6 separate regions of the Homo sapiens genome follow, and all the other regions are linked to region 2. Evidence: promoter capture Hi-C in 16 types of primary human blood cells and fetal thymus (Javierre and others, 2016). All regions are on one chromosome and are shown on one strand. Each heading gives the region's core, a stretch centred on a gene start or on the middle of the fragment in contact. The rest is flanking DNA. Distances are from core to core; before and after follow the strand shown.

Evidence for each region. The method cuts DNA at HindIII sites, captures the fragments that hold promoters and counts their contacts. A CHiCAGO score of 5 or more calls a contact.
Region 1: a fragment that was not itself captured here is called in contact with the fragment with the promoter of SFTPA2 in region 2 in 2 of 17 cell types (M1 macrophages and M0 macrophages); the score reaches 9.8 in M1 macrophages.
Region 3: a contact is called between a fragment that was not itself captured here and the fragment with the promoter of SFTPA2 in region 2, in 1 of 17 cell types (M1 macrophages). The highest score is 5.5, in M1 macrophages.
Region 4: a contact is called between the fragment with the promoter of PLAC9 here and the fragment with the promoter of SFTPA2 in region 2, in 15 of 17 cell types (M2 macrophages, M1 macrophages, erythroblasts and 12 more). The highest score is 27.4, in M2 macrophages.
Region 5: a contact is called between a fragment that was not itself captured here and the fragment with the promoter of SFTPA2 in region 2, in 2 of 17 cell types (M2 macrophages and endothelial precursors). The highest score is 7.9, in M2 macrophages.
Region 6: a fragment that was not itself captured here is called in contact with the fragment with the promoter of SFTPA2 in region 2 in 3 of 17 cell types (erythroblasts, M2 macrophages and M1 macrophages); the score reaches 6.5 in erythroblasts.

Annotation. Positions count from the first base shown.
Region 1 is chr10:80,278,101-80,282,190 of GRCh38, reverse strand. MAT1A (methionine adenosyltransferase 1A) reads left to right here. Exons shown (of 9, transcript NM_000429.3): 4 at 1,399-1,511; 5 at 1,875-2,018. Among named protein-coding and RNA genes, the nearest start is that of MAT1A, 9.5 kb to the left of the region's middle. The HindIII fragment of the contact is 1,603 bases long and covers 458-2,060 here.
Region 2 is chr10:79,558,704-79,563,046 of GRCh38, reverse strand. It overlaps SFTPA2 (surfactant protein A2), which reads left to right and starts at 2,640. Exons shown (of 6, transcript NM_001098668.4): 1 at 2,640-2,683; 2 at 3,049-3,078; 3 at 3,541-3,735; 4 at 4,042-4,161. The coding sequence starts at 3,564. RefSeq lists an enhancer at 446-959. The HindIII fragment of the contact is 5,002 bases long and covers 619-4,343 here.
Region 3 is chr10:80,296,247-80,300,385 of GRCh38, reverse strand. It overlaps the pseudogene ZNF519P1. Among named protein-coding and RNA genes, the nearest start is that of MAT1A, 8.7 kb to the right of the region's middle. The HindIII fragment of the contact is 167 bases long and covers 1,356-1,522 here.
Region 4 is chr10:80,129,880-80,134,315 of GRCh38, reverse strand. It overlaps PLAC9 (placenta associated 9), which reads right to left and starts at 1,586. Exons shown (of 4, transcript NM_001012973.3): 1 at 1,490-1,586. The coding sequence starts at 1,553. The HindIII fragment of the contact is 6,415 bases long and covers 1-3,641 here.
Region 5 is chr10:80,102,385-80,106,838 of GRCh38, reverse strand. No RefSeq gene overlaps it. Among named protein-coding and RNA genes, the nearest start is that of TMEM254-AS1, 25 kb to the right of the region's middle. The HindIII fragment of the contact is 2,057 bases long and covers 2,095-4,151 here.
Region 6 is chr10:80,071,679-80,075,829 of GRCh38, reverse strand. The region is part of intron 1 of TMEM254-AS1 (TMEM254 antisense RNA 1); the gene reads left to right. Among named protein-coding and RNA genes, the nearest start is that of TMEM254, 4.9 kb to the left of the region's middle. The HindIII fragment of the contact is 1,968 bases long and covers 1,042-3,009 here.

The sequences.
Region 1 (4,090 bases), core at 10-2,509, 720 kb before region 2:
GGGGAGATTCATTATTTAGACAGACAGTGATTAGGTAAACTGAAATGTTCAGTGCAGAACAGGACAGCTTTTGGCAGTTCTTTAAAGACTGTTCATTGATTTGTGCATTCAAAAACATTCATTAGGAAACAGGAGGGTGTAAAGGGCAAAGGTGACCTGATACTCCCAGGGTATATGATGCAACATGAGGTGCCCTGGGGTAAGTTCCTGGCATTGTGTCTAATGAACTGCAGGCAGGTCCAGGGACATGCACTGAGAGTGGACGTGGGGTTTGGGCATGTGGGGTGGGAGCTGGAGGTAGAACGTTCTAGGCAGGGACCTAGTGGAGATGGAAAAGTATATCATGCTGATGGCTAAACTTGAGTTCATGTTGGCTCAAGGAGTCCCAGGAGCAAGGGCTGTGTCAGACTGAAAAGCTTCAGTTTTATTCCTTGGCAGTAGATCCCCACCTGAAGCTTGTACAGAAACAGCAGCTTGGATCTGTGTGTTTTCTCTGTAAGCCCTTTCAGGCTGTGTGGGTAGGAGAATAGATGGGAAGGAAGATGGCTGTGGGGGTTTGGAGAGTGAGTGTGTCACTATGCTTGACCTTGTGGTGGGGGCGTCCATGTATTCAGTCCCTTATTCTCACAGTCCCTGTGACTGAGCCCAGCACAGCTGTGAGGAGGTGCGCACGGTCTCGGTGCATAGCAGTTTCCTCATGGGACTCCCAGGGCTGAGCTACTGCTAGTCCAGACTTCCCCAAACCAGTGCCTCGCGTGCTAGGTGTAGCAGGCCTGCACCCTGTGCCTCAGCTTTGTAGATGGGAAAGGGCAGGTGGCTTTTCCATTTGCCCCAGACTCTGTGTACCTCTCAGGGTCAGAGGACCCTGGCTTGGGGAGTCTGTCTGGATAGTTCATGTACACTGTATTTGTTCAGTATGTTTAATAGTTGTGTCAGGCATACAGCTGGGCTTCTGAGTGACAGTATCAAAAGGGCTCTTGATTTTCTCCTAGTGCAGTGATGCTCAAACTAGATTCTGGGAGGCACCTGTGGGAGAGCCTGAGGGGCAGGGTATGAGTCAGCCACCGTCCTCAGCCAGAGGAGCCTTGGCATCACCTTGTTTTAATCTGCAGGTCTCTGTAGGATGTGTGTGTGTGTGTTAACCAAGGTCTAATTGAGCACAGTAAAATGCACCACGGAGAATTTTGGTTGGCCAAAGAGTTCTACATGATAGGGTGGGAAGGTGCGGGGCCTCTCCCATCCTGGGCCTCAGCTGTGGGCCTAGACAGACCCTGGCTAGTTAGGGAACCCCCACGCTGACACCAAATGGCATGTCAGGAACCGAGCCATCCATTGGGAAGTTTGTGGCCCCCTCCTTCTGACCTGTTCCCCACTTAGGCTCACTTTGCTTCCGCCTAGGCTTTGACTTCAAGACTTGCAACGTGCTGGTGGCTTTGGAGCAGCAATCCCCAGATATTGCCCAGTGCGTCCATCTGGACAGAAATGAGGAGGATGTGGGGGCAGGAGATCAGGTAGCTCGGCACTGCATGTGGGAGCTGTGTGTTGAGCTGGCTGGGAAAGTTCATGAGCAGTGGGTTAATCACACTGAGGGGTGGATTCTTGTCCTAGCACGATAGCCAGGAGCGAGTTGGGAACCCCAGCTTCACGGCCGTGCTGTGGATGGCTGTGGTTGCTGACACTGGGTTTGGGCTTGTCTCCCCCTCCTAGAGTGTTGGGGGTCAGGGATGACGTCCTTCCCCTGCACATGCCAGTGGAAAGCTCCATGGAGGAGGCACCCAATCAACGTGGACACACCAGGGAGATTTCAGGCTTGGAGAGAGCTGCGGTCCTCTTGGTCTAGGGTGGGCGCCGCTCAGCCTGCTCTCTCGCCACAGGGTTTGATGTTCGGCTATGCTACCGACGAGACAGAGGAGTGCATGCCCCTCACCATCATCCTTGCTCACAAGCTCAACGCCCGGATGGCAGACCTCAGGCGCTCCGGCCTCCTCCCCTGGCTGCGGCCTGACTCTAAGACTCAGGTGAGCAGCTGAATTACCCCAGGAGAGCCCTAGACAGAAGCTTTAATACCCCCAAATCCTCTTGATTCTTGATTGTGTCATTTTTAAGATCGAAATATTCAATCTGGGCATTCAAAGAATGGTCAGTTTTGAAAAGAACTATTTATGTGAAAAATCTTCAGCTAGAGATGCTTCCCACAACATTTTATTATAAAAAATTTCAAAAATACAGAGAAATGAAAAGAATAGTTCCGTTTTTTTTGTTTGCTCATTAGTAAACATTGACTAATGAGTCCCCAAATCCTGCCACAAACATACTTAACTGGCTTCCATATTTTCAGGCCTCTTTGTCCTGAACAGGCTGTCTGTGCTGTGTCTGTGCTGTGTCTGTGTTGTCTGTCTGTGCTGTGTCTGCGCTGTCTGTGCTGTGTCTGTGCTGTCTGTCTGTGCTGTCTGTCTCATCATGACCCTTTTTCTCATCTTTGTTTCTCATGAAAAGGCTTTACGTCTGTTGTTTCCAGCTCCAAACCCATGGGCCCTGACCTGTCTTCTCCCTGCAGTGTTGAAATCAACCCAAGGCCTATATTTGAAGGCTGAGGTGATTCAAGTGTTAGTGGAGACGCAGGCCTCCTGGCACCTCACCCCTGTATCCCCTCCCTGCTTAACCCCAATGAGCCCTCTCATGATTCCCAAGTTCCCAGCACTTCATACTGCACAACTTCTCTCCCTGTGTCCATGCTCGTGGACCCCATTGTCACCTTCACATACTCCCACCTGTGGGTTTCTCTGATCACCCTCCAAGCAGATGGGCCCTGAGAGCCTGCCGTGTGCAGCACCCTGCCACCTCCCTCCTGCCCTTCCCCCGTCCTGTTCAGCGCCATCTCTCTCCACCTACCCATGTCCCCAGTTTACCCCATCAAGCACCCCTCTCGCTCCAGCTCAGCCTTCCCCAGGGCTGCCATCATCCCAGCCAGGCCAGGATCAGTGGCCTATCCTTCCAAAGGTACTCCCTGCTTGGAAATTCCAGCTAATCCCCTTTAGGCCTCATTTTTAATTCCCTAACATCTATTCAGTGTTTTCTACAACTTTGGGCTTCCTACAAGGGGAAGGGGGAAATCCACTTATTATTCTGGCATTCACAACCTTTTATGGTCTTCCAACTTTACCTGCCTCTGCCTGCCCCACACCATCTTTGCTTAATCGACATCATTTCACTCATTGTCCCCTTGTTTCTTAGGGCTTTGCTTTACCTGAGCTCCCTCTCTGGTCTTCACCTCTCCTTCAGTGGCCAGCAAAGTTCTACCTCTTTTGGGATGCCATCCCTGGCCACTAGCAGACAGCGCCAGCGCCTTCTCTTGTCCTGCACTTGGAATCTGGCACCCATGGTGTTATAGCTCAGCGTGCTGTGTGTGGCTCCATGTACAACTCCAGTTGTACAGAGATGGAGTTCCTTCTTGTGCAAGTGTCAGACCATGCACAGGGCAGAGGTTGCATACTGGCTGTACTGGGGCAGGGAAGTGTGCTTATGCCCAAAGGGAACCCTTCCTTGGGACTTCCTGTGTTATCCACATGACCCCCCAAGGTGGGGATGGGAACCATCAGCATTCCTTGGGTGTTCTTGGAGGTTGTGAGTTAGGAGAGCTAAAACATGTAGATCGTGATGGCACCCAAAGAAAGGGGCCCATGATGTCGGCCTGCCTGTCCTGTCCTGGACTGGAATGGTGCTGCGATATAGAAGCAGGGTGAAGATTCACAGAAGGGGAAATCTTAGAACAGGGAGGGGAGGTAGCCAGTGGCTCTGACTGTTTTTTCTCTTCCTTGTGCAAGAGAGAGGAACAGAGGGACCACCTACTGGACCTGCTGAAACAGGTTCATTGTGCTTAGATATGAAATAGAAGGTTTCTAGGTTTAGGGGTCAGCAAGGAAGGGAGGGTGGGATGGGCTCTTTTAGGGGTTCCCTTCCTTTGAAGGATTGTCTCGAAAATGCCAATACAGATACCAGAGTCAGCCTCACTTCCCTGCCACAGGCAGGACCGCGGGCCAGCTCCAGTCTCAGGGGGTGCAGACTTGCTGTGGGGCTCCAGGAGGCCCCT
Region 2 (4,343 bases), core at 1,391-3,890:
AATCCATGTAACCCCTGTCAGCCTCAGTTGACTGAAGTATGGAATGGGGATTTACTTACTCTCTGTACGCCTCATAGAGTGCTGCAATGATCCAAAACGACGGGAAAGCTCTAGCAGCCACAGACAGCCTCTTCCCACTGCTAGCACCCAGTGCAGCTGGAGAAAGGGGAAGGAAAGAGTCCCTTGAGCACTGAGAGAGAGGTCTCGAATCTGCAGAGACCCCCGTGGGCTGTTCTTAGGGCGGTGCATGGCTCCCACTCTGTGCCCCTTCAGTCTTAAAAAGCGTCGTCTTCCTGGTTTCAGTCACACTGGGTGAGGAGGGGGTCCTGCCACAGGGAGTGGGACTCGGAGTGCAGTGAGACTGTGGACTCTGAGGTGGCTTCGCGTGGGCACCCAGGGCCTGGCAGTGTGAAGAGGATGTCCCCGCAGAGGGAGGTGGCCCAGCATGGGGGTTGAAGCCCCTAGGAGAGTGAGAAGGGCACTGAAGGAGAGCGGACCGGCCAGGGCAATGGGGCCTGAGCAGGGGGAGGAGGCTGTGGACGCGGCAGAGTGGCCTGGCTTGGACACTCGGAACTCAGCAGGGACTGCAGCAATTCTTAGTGCTAAGAATGACAAGCTTGTGTTTCTTAACTACATTCTTTAGATTTGCTGGTGCCATGTGCTGGTAAACTGTACCTGTCTCAACATCAAACTCGGATAGTGTCCCTTGCAGCACGCAGGCGAGTGCATGGTTCCCCCTGGCGGTCGGTGGCAAGCCTCACTCACGAGTCCACATTGCTACAAATCAATCAAAGGGCAACAAAGAGCGTGATGAGGGATGGGATCTTTACAATAGTCCCAAAGTGCGTCCCCACAACATAGTCACTGATTAAAATCAGAAAAAGAATAAATTTGCAGTGGCAAATTGTGACACCCACCACCTTAATTAAATGATCAACACGAACATCATCAGTCTTGGGGCAAACTAAAGTCACATGCTGCCGGGTAGAATGGGAGAAGAGCGCAGCCGGGTGTCGATGGTATTTCTGCCGAAGTTACAGAACCTGAATCTAACTGTAAGGCAATACAAACAAACAAACAAACAAAGTGAGGGGTATTTTACACAGTAACTCCCCTGTGATCTTCACACTGTGTTCAGGTCATGAAGGTGAAGGGAAGACAGAGGGACTTTGTGGGTTTCAGGACCCTGGAGAAGCGTGACAACCGAATAAGGCACATGGCTCAGAAACGGATCCTTTGCTATAAAGGACACTATTGGGGCATTGTGTACATTTTGCATAGGGCCTGAAGGCTATTTGGAGTTATTGTATCCGTGTTTATTTCTTGATTACGGTTATAATGCAAAAATGCCTTTGCGTGAAAAACACATTAAAGTATTGGGGTGTTGGGGTTTCATGTTGACAACCTACTCTCATAGGTTCAGGGGAAAAAAAAGTCGTACGATACTGGCAATTTTTCTGTAATTTTGATGTTGTTTCAGAATAATAAAATGAAAAATGAAACTGACCAAGGCCACCTGGTTAATAAGTGACAGCTCTGGGTCAAAACTCAGGTGTGCCTTTCCCCTAAAGCCATGCCCTGCCCTGCCAACCACAAGGCCCTGCACATCCAAGTTGGCCTCTGTTCCTGCTCATCACCTGCAAAACAGCCCTGCCTCCCCACAGCCAAGTTGCTGGAGCTTCGCCCCACCTGCCCCCAACCTGCACTGGCCTGACTCCCCCATTCCACACCTGGCCCAGCACCCACCACATGGTGTGGCAGACAGCACTGGGGCAGCTGAAAGACTCCATGCTACAAATTGGCACTGCCCAGCTTCCTGCTCCTGGGAGTGGGGTCCGTTGTCTGAGCTTCCGCTCCCTGGAAGAGCTCCAAACTCCTCAATGGTTTGGGATTTTTCAAACCAATTCCAAATAAGCCAGGGGAGATTTTCCTGTCTGGGTTCCCATCATTACCACCTCCACAGTTGGAGATTCCCTCCTAATCCAGATGCTCAAACCAGGACCCTAACAACTAGGGCTTCATATATCACTGGGACACTTAGCATAATCACCATTGCAGGTTGCCAGACATCACCCAAAGTGATGTTCTACCAAAGACAGAAACTGCAGCTCTCCCATGACCTTCCAGGTGCTGCCCTGACTCCTCCAGCTGAACCTGCTAGGGCAGAGGGAAGTGGAACGTGCAGCATATTTGCCTGCCACTCTGTCCATGTGCCCACCAACTCGGCTGCAGGCTCCAGAGACACTGGCTGGGGGTCCTGGGGCTCAGAGCTGAGCAAGGTTACAGGGCAGACAGGTTGGCCTGGATCAACCTGACCAACCTCAGCTGAAGCAGTGACTTCTTCATTGTCTGAAACTAAACCAGGAACCCAGTGGAGCTCCCTGAGTGCAGAGTGGGTGACCTTAGCCAGTGAGGCATTTCTCTTCTTACAGACCTGGTATTTTTCTTTACCAGGTTCTGTGCTCCCCTCAAGGGTCCTAAGTATTCCTGCAGCCTGAGTGTTCTGCAGGGAAATGTGCTGTGTAAACACTATGCCTATTTCCTGCTTGGAGAACAGGTTTTGTGGTAGAGCTCTCAGGGGTGGGGAAGAAGCCTGGCAGCCCACATGCTATAAATTCTGTTGTCCACCTTTATGCTCTAACTTGGAGGCAGAGACCCAAGCAGCTGGAGGCTCTGTGTGTGGGTGAGTTTAGCCACATCCCCTAGGTGTTCTCCAGCTTGAGGATCGCAGGCAGAGAGGACCAGCCCAGCAGCCACAGGCCTGACCAAGGCCCAGGTTGGGAAGGAGGGCAACTCCCCATTTTCCACTGGGAGGTGTTTCACAGCATGGTCAACATGGATGACCTACAAAGACCCTCATGCTTTGATATCTTCCTTGGCCAGATCCATCCCTACCAGGGACTCAGCAGGGCCTAAGCAGGGGGAGTGGGAGAACAGACCCCAAGAGGAAGGAAGACCTCATCACTGACTGTGAGAGGGTCATCACCCCCCGATGATCACCTTGAAGGGTCCAGGCTGTGGGCCCTATTCATCTCTTTTCATTCTCAGGTCGCTGATTTCTTGGAGCCTGAAAAGAAGGTAACTGGGCATATGAGGGACAGATGGAGTGAGTCAGTGAGTGAGTGACCTCATCCTTCCTTCTAACAGCCTGGGAGGGACAGGGCAGGTTTTCTGCAGAGCATGGAAGATTCAGCTGAAATCAGAGAGGTGAAGCCAGTTTCCCAGGGTAACATAGTGAGGCACTGAAAGAAAGGAGACTGCACTGGAGCCCAGGTCCCTGGGCTCCCCAGAGCTCCTTACTCTTCCTCCTCCTCAGCAGTCTTGAGACCCCACAACCTCCAGCCGGAGGCCTGAAGCATGAGGCCATGCCAGGTGCCAGGTGATGCTTGGAATTTTCCCGGGTGCTTCGGGTCTTCCCAGCACTCTGGTCTCGCCCGCCCTGCCTCTCGGGCTCTGCCCAGCTTCCTGAGTCCTGACAGAGCACAGTGGGGGAGATGTTGGCAGAGGTGGCAGATGGGCTCACGGCCATCCCTCCGGCAGGAGCAGCGACTGGACCCAGAGCCATGTGGCTGTGCCCTCTGGCCCTCACCCTCATCTTGATGGCAGCCTCTGGTGCTGCGTGCGAAGTGAAGGACGTTTGTGTTGGAAGCCCTGGTATCCCCGGCACTCCTGGATCCCACGGCCTGCCAGGCAGGGACGGGAGAGATGGTGTCAAAGGAGACCCTGGCCCTCCAGGTACTGTGCTGCAGACCCCACCCTCAGCTGAGGGACACAGACCCCTTTTCAGGAGGCCCATCTGTCCAGGCCCCTAGGCTGTGGGCCATAGTGAGCTGGGGGCTATAGTAAGCTGGGTGGGACTTCAGTCTGCAGGGGTGGTGGGTTCCTGGGGCCCTTATGATGGCGCATCCTGGAGAGTCTGTCCTCATAGTGCCCACGGAGTGATAGCTGAGCCAGCCCCGGTGATAATGGGCATCGAGTCTCACTAGCTCCAACCAGTTGTGGGTGACAGATCCTACACATCCATGTCTCTTTTCTCTGCAGGCCCCATGGGTCCGCCTGGAGAAACACCATGTCCTCCTGGGAATAATGGGCTGCCTGGAGCCCCTGGTGTCCCTGGAGAGCGTGGAGAGAAGGGGGAGGCTGGCGAGAGAGGCCCTCCAGGTGAGCAGGGCGGGGCAGGTGGGCAGTGGAAACATGGGCACAGCGACCTGAAGTCAGTTACACAGGGGTGATGGGGGTCAGACAAACCCTGCAGGTTCCCCAAGGGCATTTGGCTCAACCTAAGTAAGAGAATATGAATTTGAGGGAGAAAGCCGAGGTGTCTGGGGAGTGTGGTCACAATT
Region 3 (4,139 bases), core at 190-2,689, 740 kb before region 2:
TAAAAAACAAATTAAGTTTACACATAGCTGAATAGAGCATTTCAAAATCTACTGTTTTCTTGATGGATAAAATGCAGACTGTAGACATTCAAACATTCTTGTTATTCTGATACCATGATCTATGTGAAAAAATGTGCTACATTCATTTTTTAAACTGAGGCCAAGCATTTACAGAGTTGAATTCACAATTAGTCTATGTCTTATCAGAGGGAAGTTATTTACACTGTTCTGTGATATTTGTGAAGATTTGTTTATTGCTATTAATAGCAATATTTCTAAAACTGTCTCATACTGTGTTTCTGTCCCATACTTTAATGCGGAACAATGATATTCTGAACAGCGAACTCATACATGACTTAAAACACTGCTGTAAGTCAAACAAAAAGAGCACCTTTATTTAGATTTAAGATTTAGATTTTAGATTTAAACATACATGCACTTTATCATATGTTGTACATGTCAATGCTCTTCATCTTTTGTGGGAGAGTTAATGTGTATAATGCCTACCTAATATAGAAGGGCCTCTCATAGGTTGGAGGTAGCAACAATTGACCACATGCTTTTACAAAAACAGTTGGAATAAAGAAATAAGAGTAATTTGAATTTAATTACATTAATATTTTTTCATGTAATCTCAAATACTGTCATTATAAAAAAGTGTACATTGATGGATAGGTATAATCATATTCAATGTCTTTACTTTTTTCAAACATACAATTACCTAATTATTTTGAGTTTGGATTATTCTCTGTAATAACCACTCTGATTTAGAGTAATGTCTCAAAGTGTTATTACTTTAGTTCTTTCTAGGGCGATTCTTCTGATTTTAATTTAGACTTTAATTTTTATTAAATACATTCCTACATTTATTGAGCCTGTAATTTCTTCCTAGCATAAACTCTGATGTTTTCTAGGGTATATATTTTGGATAAAGGTCTTTTCACATTTATTACATTTGTATGGGTTCTCTGCTATGGGAACTCTCTGTCAAGTAAGATTTATGCAACAGCTAAAGGCTTTGATAACTGCTTTATATGTGTAAAAATGTTTTTTAGCATAAATAATGTGGTGTTTTCTAAGGTATATATCTTGAGCAAATATTTTTTTCAAAATCATTACATGTATTAGATTTCTATCTAGAATTGATTTTCTAATGTTGAGTAAGGTGTGAGCACTAGTTTTGGGCATTGGCACATTCTTTATACTTGTGGGGTTTTTATCTGGGGTGAATTATCTGATACTAAGTAAGGTTTGAGTGCCTGTTAAAGGCCTTGCCACATTCTTTACATTCGAAAAGTTTCTCTCCAGTATGGAGTCTCTAATGTTGAGTAAGTTGTGAGCCCCAGTTTAAAGCTTTTCCACATTCTTTACATTTAAAAAGTCTCTCTCCAGTGTGAATTCTCTGATGTTGTATAAAGTGTGCATATTGGTTAAAGGCTTTGTGCATTCTTTATATTTGAAGGGTTTCTCTCCAGTATGGATTTTCTGATGTTGTCTAAGATGTGAGTCCCAGGTAAAAGCTTTGCCACATTATTTACATCTGAATGATTTCTCTCCAGTGTTGATTAACTTATGTCTATTTAGATGTGATGACTGACTAAAGACTATTATACATTTGTTACATCTTTGTGAGTTCTCTCCAATGTTAATTATTTGATGTTGAGAAAGTTTTAAGGACTGGCTAGAAGTTTTACCATATTCATTACAGTTGTCAGGCTTTTCTGGAATAGGATACTCTGATGAAAAATAAATTTTGAGGATCAATAAAATACTTTCCCACATTCATTACATTTATAATCATTTTCTAGAAAATGAGTACTCTGATGCTTACTAATTTTTGAGTCATGGTTAAAGTTTTTCTGATTTTCATTACAACAGATGGACTTCAAAAATTGATGTTGATATTTACTTACAGAAACATATGCTTCTGTAGAAGTAGCCAACATAAACTGAGCCTTCTTCTGTAATATTCTGTTTTTGATCTCCTTTCACAGTTAAAATTTTGTTATGAGTAGTTGTCTAATATTGGCTATGTACATTATAACGTTCTTTTTGCCCTCTACCTTCACCCACACTTTCACAATTTTTCCATAAGTGTACATTTTTAAGGCCACAGCTCCCATATCTTCCCAGTGTCACTTTTTAGAATGAATCGTCTATGCCTTGCTCAGGTGAAAGGCCTTGGTTGTAATAAGAATACATAGCCAGCCCGGTGCAGTGTCACACACCTGTAATCCCAGCACTTTGGGAGGCCGAGGCGGTGGATCACCTGAGGTCAGGAGTTCGTGACCAACCTGACTAACATGGTGAAGCCCTATCTCTACTAAATACGAAAAAATTAGCCGGGTGTGGTGGCACATGTCTGTAATCCAAGCTACTTGGGGGGCTGATACAGGAGAATTGCTTGTACCTGGGAGGTGAAGGTTGCAGTGAGCTGAGATTGTGCCATTGCGTCCCAGCCTGGGCAACAAGAGCGAAACTGCATCTCAAAAAGAAAAAAAAAAAGAATACATAGCCAGGAAGGCCAGGTTTCTATAGTTCTCTAACATCATATCTCTATACAAATTCCACTGGGGAGGGGCCAGGCATTTGCACTCTTTGGAGAGAATTCTATGGCCACGTCTCTGAATATTGAGTCCCATGTCTCAGAGTCAGGGATGTCCTGGAGTCTTAGCTATAAATCTTCCAATAACAGCAGGTCACAGAATGATGGAGGCTGTGGCAGAATCACCTAGGCCTCCCGAAACAGAGGACACATGGCAGTGAAGACCTAACCCCAAGCTCTGGCTGGAGCAAGAGGTGTGATCGTTTAAAAAATATGGCTTAAGTTATGGTATAGTGTCCTTTCATCCTGATGGCCTCTCTATTAACATGCCTTGTAGTGCATGTCTACTGGTGAAAGACTTTCTCAGTTTTTATTTATCTGGGAATATCTTAATTTTTTCTTTATTTTGGGGGGATCGTTTTGCCAGATACAGAATTCATACTTGACCGTTTCCCGCCCCCCCGGACTTTAAATATTTTATCTTACTGCCTTCTAGCCTGCATGATTTCTGAAGAAAAATTGGCTGTTAATACTTTTGACTGTAATTGTCCTGTTCTTTGACTGTTACTACTGTTATATGTGATTAGATTCTTCTCTCTTTCTGCTTTCGAGATTTTCTCTTTTCTTTGGCTTTCAGCAATTTTACTATAGTGTGTCTTGATGTGTCTTAAAATTCATCCTTCTTAGATTTTGTTGTTATTCTTGTATGTAGAGATTCGTGTCTTTCATCAAATTTGGGAAGTTTTGGCTATTATTTCTTCAAAAATTCTTTCTGCTTTCTCCCTCTCCTGTCCCTCTTGGAATCTCATTATGCATGTGTTGGTATAGTTGGTATTGTCCTACTGGTCTCGTAGGCTCTGCATATCTATCTTTTTCACTTTTTTTGTTTTTATTCCTCAGATGAAATAATCTTAATTTGCCTGTCTTCATATAATACTGATACTTTCTTCTGTCTGACCAAATCTGTTGGTGAACACCTCTAATGAAATTGCCTTTCTATTATACTTTTTATCTCCAAAATTTCTATTTGGTTCTTTTTAAAAATAATTTTTAATCACTTTATTAATATTTACTATTTGATGAGACATTGTTCCCTGATTTTCATGAGTTCTTTTCCTATGGGTTCTTTTAGACTTTTAGCATATTTAAGATAGTTCACTTAAAGTCTTTTTTTTTTTTTTTTTTTTTTTTGAGACAGGCCCTCCTTCAGTCACCCAGGCTGGAATGCAGTGGCGCCATCTTGACTTATTGCAACTCTGCCTCCTGGGCTGAAGTGATTCTCCTGCCTCAGCCTCCTAAGTAGCTGGGACTACAGGTACGAGCCACCATGCCTGGCTAATTAGGTCTTTTTCTAATATATCCAATGCCTAGGCTTTCTCAGGGAGGCTTCTACTAGTTTATTTTTTCCCCGTGAATGGCCAAACTTTCTTCTTTTTTTTTGTTTTTGCATGTCTCATAACTTTTTGTTGTTAACTGGACATTTTTAACATTATAATGTAGTGACACTGGAAATCAGATTCCCCCTGCCCCAGTATTGCTGTAGCTTATTGTGGGTTATTGATATTTGTTTTGTTATTAGTTTTCTGAACTATTT
Region 4 (4,436 bases), core at 337-2,836, 570 kb before region 2:
TTCTAGCATGGGTGACAGAATGAAATCCTGTCTCAAAAAAAAAAAAAAAAGAAAGAAAGAAAGAAAGAAAATATACAATGCCTGGATTTCCTTTAAAATAATCCAGGGAGGGGAGAGAGGGTGGAGGCTATAGATGAGATAAAACTGCCCATGAACTGATACTTCTTGAAGCAGCGTTGATAAGTATATTACATGATTCTTTCACATACTATTACTTTGTATTTTTTTGTATCCAAAAGTTTTCATAATCAAAAGTTAAGATATATCATCTAAAATCTGAAAGATTATGCACAAAAATATATGAAATCAGTGTGAAATTACACTAATACATGAATACTTTCCTCCTTTCCTTCTTCTTTTTTTTTTTTTTTTGAAACTGAGTCTTGCTCTGTCACCCAGGCTGGATTGCGGTGGCTTGATCTCGGCTCACTGCAACCTCCGCCTCCCAGGTTCAAGTGATTCTCCTGCCTCAGCCTGCCGAGTAGCTGGGACTACAGGCATGTGCCACCACGCCCGATTAATTTTTTGTATTTTTAATAGAGACAGCATTTCACCATGTTAGCGAGGCTGGTCTTGATCTCCTGAGCTTGTGATCCGCCCGCCTGAGGGGTAGGTGAGGGGAAGAAAGCGGACAGTGAAAAGCAAGGAACCCAGCTAATGGAGTACCCAGACAGCCTCTCTCCTCCGCACAGCTCTCCACCTCCACCCAGTCCCCCATCTCCACCCAACATAGCTCAGTTTCCCAGAGAAGCTCCCTGGAAACCGGGAGGCTGACTTCTTCACTGACTGCAGATCCACCTGAGGCCACCTGGCAGGTGAATCGGTGGCCTTTCTCCTGGGCCCGACTGCCTGGTTCCTTAAGGCTGTGCTGGGCTAGCCTGGGTCACTCATCCTTTGGAGTGTGGCTTCTTATGCAATGTCCTATAAAGCCAGGCCTGAGCCTCCACAGGCCCTCTGAGATGGAGCTGGCCTCCGGGGCTGCCCCACCCAGCAGCTGTGACCTCCCACTCCAGATCCTGGCTCCTTCTCTCTTGCCAGCTCTACTCCGGGCATCGAGCTTCCCTCTCTCTCCTTTTTGGTCTCTCTCAAATCTTTCTCTTTTCTTCAATATCCTCTCTCCCTCCACCCCTTGCCATTTTAATCACTTTTTCTCTTTCCTTCTTCTCTTTTGTCTCTCAAACTCCTTTTTCTTTCTATCTTAGTTCATATCTGTTCAGGGGAAGCCTCTTTCTGTCTCAGCCTCTCCTTTTTCCTTTTCACTGTGTATTCTTCCCTATCTCCTTTATCTCTCCGTTGCTCTACTTCTCTGCCTTTTTCTGAGTCTGTTTCCTCTCAATCTTTCTCTCCATCCCTCCCTCCCTGCATCTGCCTCTCTGTCCATCTCGCTGCTGTGTCCAGCTCTCTCTCCGTCTCTCTCGCTCATTCCTTCCTCGCCATCTGCGGGTCTCCCCGGCTCCAGGTCCCCTGCCGCGCCCTGCGCCCCACTCACCGGCCAAAGAGCCCGCGGCGCGGAGCAGGGCCAGTCCGGTCAGCGCGCAGAGCAGGGGCCGCATGGTGCCGGCCTGGCCGAGCGCAGCGCCGCGTCTGCCCGCAGCCGCCCTTCCCGGATCGCACCCGGCCGGCCCGAGAGGAAATGCACTCAGTTCGAGCCAAAATTCCTGGGCGGCTCCGGACTTTCTGGCTCGAGAGAACCCGCCCCCTCCAGAGGCCCCTCGGCACCCCGTGGGCAGCGCGGAGCCCAGAGACCCCGGGAGCTGAGGCACCGACGTGCCACCTGGGCGCCTCCCGAGGAAGGGGCCGCCCCCCGAGTCCCCGCACCTCCTGGGAGCCCGGGAGGGAAGGCGGGGCGGGGGGCATTGGGTGAGGTCTTGGGCTCAAGGCGACCGAGCCTGGGGTCAGGGGTTTGTTACGAGCCAGTTTCACAGGCGGGCAGACTAAGACTCGGAGGGAAGTGTCTTCCTCGGCATCACTCTCAGCCATAGCACAGGATCTGAACCCCTGTCTCCTGGGAGTTTGGCAGCTTTTCTCTGTCTACCTACGAACAAGAAATTAATTCTAATTACATGGAACAGTGTCTGCCCCTAAGAGGGAGACCCAGAAACTCACTGCTCTGGTAAGGGAGTGATAGAAATATGAAAAGGTAATTTTAAAAAGAAAAGGTAAAATCGTAACTCTCGCAAAGATATGAAATTAGCATATACTAAAGATTTTATTCAATTCATTATTAATGAGGGGATAAGTAAGATGGTACAAGCAGCCCAAAGTTTAGAGCACAGTAGTGGAAACTTCCCCTATGGGACATGCCCATCCAACAAGTGCAACAACAAATTAAGTTTTAGTAAAAACACAAAGCAAAAAAGCTGTAGCTCTAACTTCTCTGCTGCAGAGCCCTGAGTGAGTGTCTCGTCTGGCTGTAAGTGGAACACATTCATCACCAAGCCTGGGAGAATGCCTTTGTCCATCAAGGGTCCCCGTTGGGATTACCTGGAGCTCTTGCAGATCAAGGCTGCCTCTCTGCCTTCTGTGTTCCTGGCTGTGGCTATGCAATTGTCCAAAACAGTTACCACGCTAACCAGTGATCCAGTTCTCACTCCCTCCTCCAGAGCAAGATAGTAGCCTCAGACGGAGAAATTCTGGTTCTGAGCCCGAGAATCTGAGACAGACTCAGATCTAAATCTTTTAAAAGCCTTCAAGGAGATTATGATGCCCACATGAGCTGGCTCAGAAGAAGAATTTATTTCAGGAATGCCAAAAATTTCTCACGCTTGGTGGTAGGACATTCCTTGATAGTTTCGCCAGGTGGGAAAAAAAGTTGTCAAAGAACTGCCCAACTCATAAGGATTCTTGTAGCTTAGAGCCAGTGGGCTACCTTATATTTTGAATTTAAGACTAAGAAAACACACACACACACAAAAACATATACAATACATTATTGTTGCGGTAGAGCATAAAGTAATTAAGTATACAGAGTAAAACATGAAAGTCTTTTCTGTTACGAATTCCCTCCGTCCAATGATTCAGGTCCAGTCCCCTCAACTTGGTAGGCTCTGCCTGTTCCACGTCTATGCATTCCCCATCTACCTAATGTATATTCAGACACAAATGTATATACATGAGATCAAGTCATAGATATTTTGAAGATTTGCTTTCATTCATGTTTATCTCAGTCATAACATTAAATCTTGGCTGGGTGCAGTGGCTCACGCCTGTAATCCCAGCACTTTGGTAGGCCGAGGTGGGTGGATCACCTGAGGCCAGGAGTTTGAGACCAACCTGGCCAACGTGGTGAAACTCCGTCTCTGCTAAAAATACAAAAAATTAGCAGGGCGTGGTGTTGGGCGCCTGTAGTCCCAGCTACTCAGGAGGCTGAGGCAGGAGAATCAGAACCCAGGAGGCGGAAGTGGCAGTGAGCCAAGATTGCACCACTGCACTCCAGCCTGGGCAACAGAGCAAGACTCCATCTTAAAATAAAAGAAAATAATCTTGGAGATCAGTCTATGTGGGTACAGATAAATCCACTTCATTCCTTTTAAGAGTTAAAATATCCCATGAATGGATACAAGGAGCATTATTTATCCAAACAGTCCCCTATTGACAGACATGTAGATTGCTTCCTTTTTCTCTCCAATATAAAATAAGCTTTAATAAACATTCCTTTGCATATATCTTCATGTACGTAGTACATATTCCTGTATGTACATATTTCTGAAAGGCTGGAAGAGGAATCATTGCGTCAAAGGCCTTTTACATTTTGCCAGATAGGCCAAAAACTGTTCCCCAAATTGTTACTAAGCCCACAGGAGGGGCAAGGGGTCTTCCAGCGCTGTTCCAAGGTGCACCTGAGCATGTTAGTCTAGGTAGGAATTGGGCTGCAGGGGGCGCCATTTACATAAAATACTTCTGCGCTGGGCGCGGCGGCTCACGCCTGTAATCCCAGCACTTTGGGAGGCCGAGGCGGGTGGATCACGAGGTCAGGAGATTGAGACCATCCTGGCTAACATGGTGAAACCCCGTCTCTACTAAAAACACAAAAAATTAGCCGGGCGTGGTGGCGGGCGCCTGTAGTCCCAACTACTCGGGAGGCTGAGGCAGGAGAATGGCATGAACCCGGGAGGCGGAGCTTGCCGTGAGCCGAGATTGCGCCACTGCACTCCTGCAGTGTCACCCACTGCACTGGGTGACAGAGTGAGACTCCGTCTCAAAAACAAAACAGAACAAAAAAACAAAAAAAACCCTTCTGGATTGGAGATACCTGAAGTGTAAACCTATCAGTCACCTACATTCTCCAACACTGGATATTTATTATTTAAAATTTTGACAGCTTGATGATGGAAAATGTTACCTTGTTGTTATTGTTATTTACATGCTACTTGTTATGAGTGAGGTTAAGCTTTATTTGCTTCTTCGATTACTTTTTTCTATTTTCCTCCCTTTCC
Region 5 (4,454 bases), core at 1,874-4,373, 540 kb before region 2:
ATCAATATATGGTTCTTTAGGTCCTTGTTGGACAGAACTGGGAGAAGGATATTTTTCCCCTGTAACATTTATCCTTTCCCATGCCCGTAAGCACACAGAGCGCAGCTGAACAATGGCAACATCCTCCATTACTGCTTGATTCTCTAATCGACCCCAATTAGGGCAAACTCCCATTAACTGTTCAAAGGAAACAGGCACAGGTGGATGCGCTTGTGTGTTTTCCCTTGCCTGAGTTTGAGCTTCATCAGCCCACCAGGTTTTAAACTGTAAATACTGAGACAGAGTGAGAACAGATTTTGTATCCCAATCATATGGTAATAACCTATTATCAAGAGCCACATTTTTCCACAAAGTTTGCACAAAAGGAGAGTTTGGTCCGTATTGACTAATGGCTTGCTTAAATTTCTTTAGTAACTTAAAAGGAAAAGTGGCCCAATTAGCTATATTCTGTCCTCCTTGCTGGGTTATAGTAACTGGAAATTGCCATGTTTCAAGGTCTCCCTCAGCTCTAGCTTTTTGAATAGAATTTTATACAACACCACCAGTTGCTCCAGGTTTTAATGTTGCAACTACAGGAGCAGTAAGTTTTTCAGCTAATTCATTTTCTCTCCCATTAAGGGGAGAGAGAGGAGGTGGCCATTCACTTAATTCAGCAGATGGAGCTGACGGGCTAGTAAAACATGCTTTTCTAAGTTTTCCTTTCTTTTCTTTAATCTCCTCCAGTAGCTGTTCCTCACACTCAGAATCTGAAGTTAGTTTTTTACACTCGTCCTCCTCTTCCTCATCTGAATCTGCCTCATCTTCTGTTTGAAATGGCTCAAGAGCTGCCTTTATTAGTGCCCACATTGACCAAATGGAAACTGGAATTTCTGCTCCATCTTTATACGCCTTTTTAAAATCTCTTCCAATTCTCTCCCACTCATCCAACTCCATAGTCCCTTGTTCCGGAAACCATGGGCAAAACTGCTTTTCTGTGCTAAAGAGTGACAACAAATCCTGAGTACTAACTTTTCATTCCCCCTTTTCATAATAAATGCCTTAAGAAATTCAAAGAAGCAGAATGTTTGCTTTCACTTTGTCCCATTGTTACCCTGGTTCTTCCAAGTGCTCAGCTTTCCCACCGAGCTTCTTTCAGTCATCCTCAGGTGTCCTCTGACGAAGGGTCCTCTGCTTTTACACACTCTATCATTCCTTCACCAGGGTCTTCGTCGCCCCACTGTGAATATATTAATACTGGGGAGCGATTTTGTGCTACAGTCACCTCTGCAATTTACAATAGTTAGGCTGTGAACACATGATACAAATGCAGGCCTTGAAATCTAGGTTTGATTCCTGGTTCCTACCACTCACTAGGTTTTGTTTTTGTTTTTGTTTTTACACTCACTAGCTCTGACTGTAAACAAGGTATTTAATTCATTTGGCCCCAGTTTTCTTTTCTTTTCTTTTTTTTGAGGCAGAGTCTTACTCTGTCACCCAGGCTGGAGTGCAGTGGAGCAATCTTGGCTCACTACAACCTCCACCTCCCAGGTTCAAGCGATTTTCCTGCCTCAGCCTCTCGAGTAGCTGGGGCTGCAGGTGTGCGCCATGATGCCCGGCTAATTTTTGTATTTTTAGTAGAGATGGTCTTGGAGTCCTGACCTCAGATGATCCGCCTGCCTCGGCCTCCCTAAATGTTGGGATTACAGGTGTGAGCCGCCGCATCTGGCCGGCCCCCGTTTTCTAACTGGGAAAAATGGGTTAGCAGCACCTACTTCCTAGGGTTTAAAGTGATAATTAAATGAAAGAATGCAAGCAAGGCTCTAGCATAACACCCAGCACATAGTGAGTTTTTAATTCATGTTGGATCTTCCTGTTATTAACACAGAAGGAATTCTGTGGGACTTCTGCAGATTGAAAGGATATAATGAGATTTCATAAGGCATCCCTTCCTGGTCAAAGTGTGTTTTGCAGCAGGCATGACAGGACGCCAGAACAACACTAGTGACACACTGAAAATTGAAATTTCATAATGTATTTATTTTCAGTTTCCTAGGAAATACTCTGATATGCAGAACGTAAGCCAGCAAGCTCTCTGGCTGTGCAGATGTCAAAGCTTCATAAATGCTGTAACTACGGCCATTCTGTGTACATGTGCAACATATTAGTGCTGCACCTTCAGCCAATGGCAAGAAAACCCCTGGGTCAGCAGAGTGTTTACAATATTTGCACATTGCTATGGATACAGTATCAAAGGCAGACGCCAGTAACATGAACAGGATGTGGGGGTTTAAGGCAGTTAACAATCACAGAAACTACTCTCACTCTTAATACATCATTCTTGGATAATATTTGTAAAATATTTGGGAGGTGAGGCATGCTGTTGAGAACATTACTTTGGATGTTTCACCCGACACCACTGACAGGCAGCTTGGTGAAATATCAAGGTGTCAAGGACCTAGGTCTGTCACCAAATTAGCTAGCTGGGTGTCATTGGTGGTTGCCTTCCTTCATATGACCTAGCTCCCTCCATGGCGGGAGTTGGGGGAGGAGATTTCTGCCATCCCTTCCGGCATTCTGATTACAAGTGGAGCTCAAACATGATTTCATCTCTTATCCTGTGTTGTTTAACACAATTCTGGCTAAGTTGAGCAGCATTTAGAGATTTTTGGAGGCATCCAAGATGAGCTACGCTAAGTGGCCAGCCTGGACTTTGTTTTTCTATTGTAACCCGTCTTGTTCACACACCATGCAGATCCAGTTGGCTCTCACGCTCTCTTGAAGACAGATTTCTCCCCACTCCAAGACAGCAACATGGAATGTGGGCAACTTAGCTCTTGTTGGAAAATTGTCAAGAAGTAAAGGAAAAATAATTTTTTCCAAATAGAAACAATTATACATAGATTCTATTTTTATTCTTATGGTAGTTGCATTGAATTCCTCATTTCATGTTTATTTATTCCAGTTGCTTTCTTACATTTATTAGCATCTATATTGCCCTTAATAATGCAGCCAGTACAGGCCAGGGCGTGGGCGCTCACGCCTATAATCCCAGCAGTTTGGGAGGCCGAGGCGGGCAGATTGCTTGAGGTCAGGAGTTCGAGACAAGCCCGGCCAACGTGGTGAAACCCCATCTCTACTAAAAATACAAAAATTAGCCAGGAGTAGTAATATGTGCCTGTAATCCCAGCTACCCAGGAGGCTGAGGCAGGAGAATTGCTTGAACTCAGGATGCGGAGGCTGCGATGAGCTGAGATTGTGCCACTGCACTCCAGCCTGGGTGATAGAGCAAGACTCTGTCTCAAAAAAAAAAAAAAAAAAAAAAATGCAACTAATTCAGCATTGCTCTCCTGCCCAGTTAATTTATACCCCCCCACTGATCCCACCACACACACACATGCACACATACATGTGCCACTATGGAGGTTATATGGAACAAATATAGTTCTAAACCAGGGTTGTTTTGAAAACATTATTATCTCTCTTTTTATTTTTCTTTGATGACTCTCTCCTCTCTTCTTCCCCTTTGCCTCCTGCAGCATTACCTGGGTTTTTTTTCCTTTCATTTTTTGAGATCTTCTTCCAAAAGTGTTTTTAGTGTGGGTCTGTGTGTGGCAAGTGCTCTGAGCCCTTGAATGCAGGTGATTCTTCCCATCACTCTCTCCCATTTGTATGATAATTTGGCTGAATATAAAATTCTACCTTCAAGACCAGGCGTGGTAACTCACACCTGTAATCCCAGCACTTTGGGAGGCCAAGGCAGGTGGATCACCTGAGGTTGGGAGTTCCAGACCAGCCTGGCCAATATGGTAAAACCCCGTCTCTACTAAAAATACAAAAATTAGCTGGGAATGGTGGCAGGCGCCTATAATCCCACCTATTCAGGAGGCCGAGGAAGGAGAATCACTTGAACCCGGGAGGTGGAGTTTGCAGTAAGCCAGGATTTCGCCACCGCACTCCAGCCTGGGTGACAGAGCGTGACTCTGTCTCAAAAAAATAAAAAATAAAATAAAATAAAATTCTACCCTCAAAATTACTGTCTCCTAATACTTTATAACTACTATGTAGTTACAGTTAACCATTATACTACACTGCCTCCCAGGATCTCATGTAGCTATTTGATGTCTATCTCATTGTCATTCCTTTGGAGGTGATCTGCTCTCTCTTTGGAAGCTTTTAGAACTTTCTCCTTGTCTTTATTACTATTATTATTATTTTGAGAGAGGGTCTCACTCTGTGGCCCAGGCTGGAGTGCAGTGGTGTGTGATCACAGCTCACTGCAGCCTTGACCTCCTGGGCTAAAGTGATCCTCTTGCCTCAGCCTCCCAAGTAGGTAGGACTACAGCCAAGTGCCACCATGACTAGCTAATTTTTTTTTTTTTTTTTTAGATGGAGTCTCACTCTGTCGCCCGGGCTGGAGTGCAGTGGCACGATCTTGGCTTACTGCAACCTCCCCCTCCCAGGATCAAGTGATTCTC
Region 6 (4,151 bases), core at 776-3,275, 510 kb before region 2:
TTGGCCTTCTGGGTTCAAGTGATTCTCCTGCCACACTCTCTCTAGTAGCTGGGACTACAGTCACATGCCACCACACCCAGCTAATTTTTTGTATTTTTAGTAGAGATGGGGTTTCGCCATGTTGACCAGGCTGGTCTCAAACTCCTGACCTCAGGTGATCCACCTGCCTTGGCTTCCCCAAGTGCTGAGATTACAGGTGTGAGCCACCATACCCAGCCTACCTTACCAAAAGTTTCAAGAACTTCCCCAATTTTAGGCTGCCGTTTTTCAGTATTTCTATTTAGGTATTAAATCTGCAACGAGGGAGATATTGGAGAAATTATTCATGCTACAAGAAATGTTGGAGAGGCAAAATGGCTTCAGTCAACAGACTACAGGGAGCTAGGTTTTAGTTTCATGTCTTCTACAACCCTGCTTGGAGCCCAGCCTGTTACTTAGTGTCCTATGTCTTCCAACTCCACACTATTTTTTTTTTTTTTAATAGAGACGGTGCTTCACTATGTTGCCCAGGCAGATCTCAAACTCCCAGCCTTAAGTAATCCTTCCACCTCAGCCTCCCAAAGTGCTGGGATTATAGTTAGAGGCTGTACCTGGCCACCAACAGCTCAACACTAAACATCTTACTGTTAGCCCCTCACGCACAGATAAGGAATCCAGAAGACAGTACCAGAAGATCTTTGTTCAGATGTGAGTAGTTTATGTAAATTCATGAAGAACTTACAGTCAACTGGATGTTCAGAAGGCATTCCTTTCTTCATTACAGTCACCCTTCACACACGGCAGGGGTGACTGAATTCTCTAAGGTCCAGGCACCCTACACTGCTGTCCCATCTGAATTGGCAGAGAAATATCTCATCCCTGGACATTTTTATCCCCCTGTCTAGATGGATTAGTGACCTAAATATGAAAAATAATGAAGAAAGTCTGGGAGAATAGTTTTACAACTTTTGAGGGAGGGGAAGGAAACCTTTTAGCAAGTTATTAAAATTAAAAGCCATAGAAGGAAAGATTGAAAATTTAACTGCATCCAGATGAAAAGCTTCATTCATATGAATGACACTGTAAATAAAGTTGAAATACCTGGAAGAAGGAATTCTCCAATATATGTAATTGACAAATGATTAAAGGATATGAATTGGGCATCCTCAAAAGAGAAAACTTGAGACCAAGCAAAATGAAAGGATGGTTCAATCTTAATGGCCCTATGGGATACGCAAAATAAAGCAAAAATAACATTGTTTTTCCTCATAAGATTGGCCTACTAGATATCAAGACACACTGTAAAGAGCTATAATAATGTAAAACATTTGGCACTTGACATGCAGAAATCAACAAATGGATCAATGAAAAAATAATGCAGACTCCAGACATGGATCTGGTATATACATATCCAAGCGTTTATTTTATAATAAAGGTAACATTTCAAATTAAGGAAGGAATAATGGATTATTCAGTAAATTATTTTGGGGCAATTAGTTATCTATTCCAGAAAAAATATTTTAAATAATACTGTCCACTCCCAAACACAAATACACAAATGATGCAGTATCAAGAGATACAGAGGTATTAATAAGTAGTCCTCCTTGGGGAGTTATGATGAGGTGGCTATAGGATGGACAAGTGCTGAGATACAGCAAAAAACTCCCACACCTTCCCAGGATTATAGGATGGGGGAAGGGCGACCTAAACAAATTTACAGAAATTTGAATAGAATATTGTGTGTCCAGGGAATTAGGAGAAATTTTTTGTTGCTAGAAAAAAACAATGTGAAGAAATTGAGTGAAGGAAGTTGAGGCTGCAAAGACAGGTGGAGTCCTGATCATGAATGGCATTTGGTATCAAACCGAGGGGTTTTGATTTGATCCCTTAGCCAAGGTGAGTCAGTGAAATTCTGTTTGTTTTATTTAATTAATGTATTTATTATTTGTAGAGACGAGTCTCCCTATGTTGCCCAGCTGGTCTTGAACTCCTGGGCTCAAGTGATCCTCCTGCCTCAGCCTCCCAAACTGCTGGGACTACAGGTCAGGCTTGGGCCACCATGCTGAGCTAATTATTATTATTATTATTATTATTATTATTATTATTATTATTTTTAATAGAGATAGGGTCTCGCTATGTAGCCCAGGCTGGTTTTGAACTCCTGAGCGCAAGCTATCCTCCCACCTTGGCCTCCCAAAATGCTGGGATTACAGGCATGAGCAACCATACCTGCTCTGTTTGTTTTAACTAGTGGAGTGAACATATCTTGTGTACATTGGATGGAGGTAAAATTGGAAGGAAGGAAGGAGGAGAAGAAGAAAAATTATTGAAACAGTATAATGAGAATGGAGAAGGAAAATGCTACATTTTTTAGGTAGGGAAACCAAGGAATCATTCACTCAAATAGTCAAGAAATATTTCTGAAGACCGGCTGGGCGCGGTGGCTCACGCCTGTAATCCCAGGACTTTGGGAGGCTGAGGCGGGCGGATCATGAGGTCAAGAGATGGAGACCATCCTGGCCAATGTGGTGAAACCCCGCCTCTACTAAAAATACAAAAATTAGCTGGGTGTGGTGGCGCGTGCCTGTAGTCCCAGCTACTCAGGAGGCTGAGGCGGGAGAATCACTTGAACCCGGGAGGCACAGGTTGCAGTGAGCCAAGATTGCGTCACTGCACTCCAGCCTGGTGACAAAGCAAGACTCCATCTCAAAAATAATAAAATAAAATAAAATAGTAATAAAATTTAATTTCTGAAGACCAGTGTAGTGTCAGTTATGGTGCTAGGCTCTGGAAATATGAATATAAACCAAAAATAATATTCTAAGGCCCCCCCCTAACTATCTGAATGGACTTTCTTCTCAGCCAGGGCTCTTTTAAAATGTAACCTGAGAGACTGGTTCAGGCCATGACTGAAAGTGGGAGTCAGACATGCCTCATTATACCTTTCTGGCATTGACATCAACATAGACTGTAAGTCTGATAAGAAACATTTTACAACCTGTTCTCTCTGAAGCCTACTACCTGAAAGCTTCCTCTGCAAATAAGAACTTGAGTCTCCACAATCCTTAACCCAGATATTCCTTTCTCTTGATCCCAGGTATTTAGATAAACTCAACCAATTGTCAACCAGGGCTGCGTGTGGTGGTTTATGTCTGTAATCCCAGCAGTTTGAGTGGCCGAGGTGGGCAGATCACTTGAAACCAGGAGTTTGAGGCCAGCCTGGCCAACATGGTGAAACCCCATCTCTACTAAAAATGCAAAAATTAGCCAGGTGTGCTGGTGCATGCCTGTAGTGCCAGCTACTTGGAAGGCTGAGGTGGGAGGATCACTTGAATCTGGGAGGGAGAGGTTGCAGTGAGCTGAGATCATGCCACTGCACTCCAGCCTGGGTGACAGAGTGAGTTCCTGTCTCTAAATAAATAAATCAATAAAAATAAAAAATACAATAACAACTGTCAACCAGGAAATTAAACATCTACCTAGATTTTTTAAAAAAGAATAATCTTCGGCTGGGCACGCTGGCTCACGCCTGTAATGCCAGCACTTTGGGAGGCCGAGGCGGCCAGATCACGAGGTCAGGAGATCAAGACCATCCTGGCTAACGCAGTGAAACTCCGTCTCTACTAAAAATACCAAAATTAGCCGGGCATGGTGGTGGGCGCCTGTAGTCCCAGCTACTTGGGAGGCTGAGGTAGGAGAATGGTGTGAACCCAGGAGGTGGAGCTTGCAGTGAGCCGAGATTGCACCACTGCACTCCAGCCTGGGGGACACAGCAAGACTCTGTCTCAAAAAAAAAAACAAAAAACAAAAAACAAAAAAAAAGAAAACAAATAATCTTCTCTTGTACAATTTTTGATAAATAAGATATGGAATGAGAAACTGAACTGTTGCTTTCGTAGGTAAATGAGAGTCTGAGTTTCCTTAGCTCCAAAGAGAAAGGGCATTTTACTCCTCCCAGCTGAAAGGCACCCCTGGGTGACCAGGGGCCTTGTGGGAGTGTCTGTGAGGTTCACCCACCCATCATGACATGTAGCGCAGCAGCCCTACAGGGAACCCCCAACAAAATTAGTTTTAAAAAGGCTCATCCAGGAAGCACGTATGGGAGCTCCAGGTTTTGAGCCCTCTGAGAGGTGCTAGAGCTTCAGAGAGAGAAATTGAGACACATAAGAGGG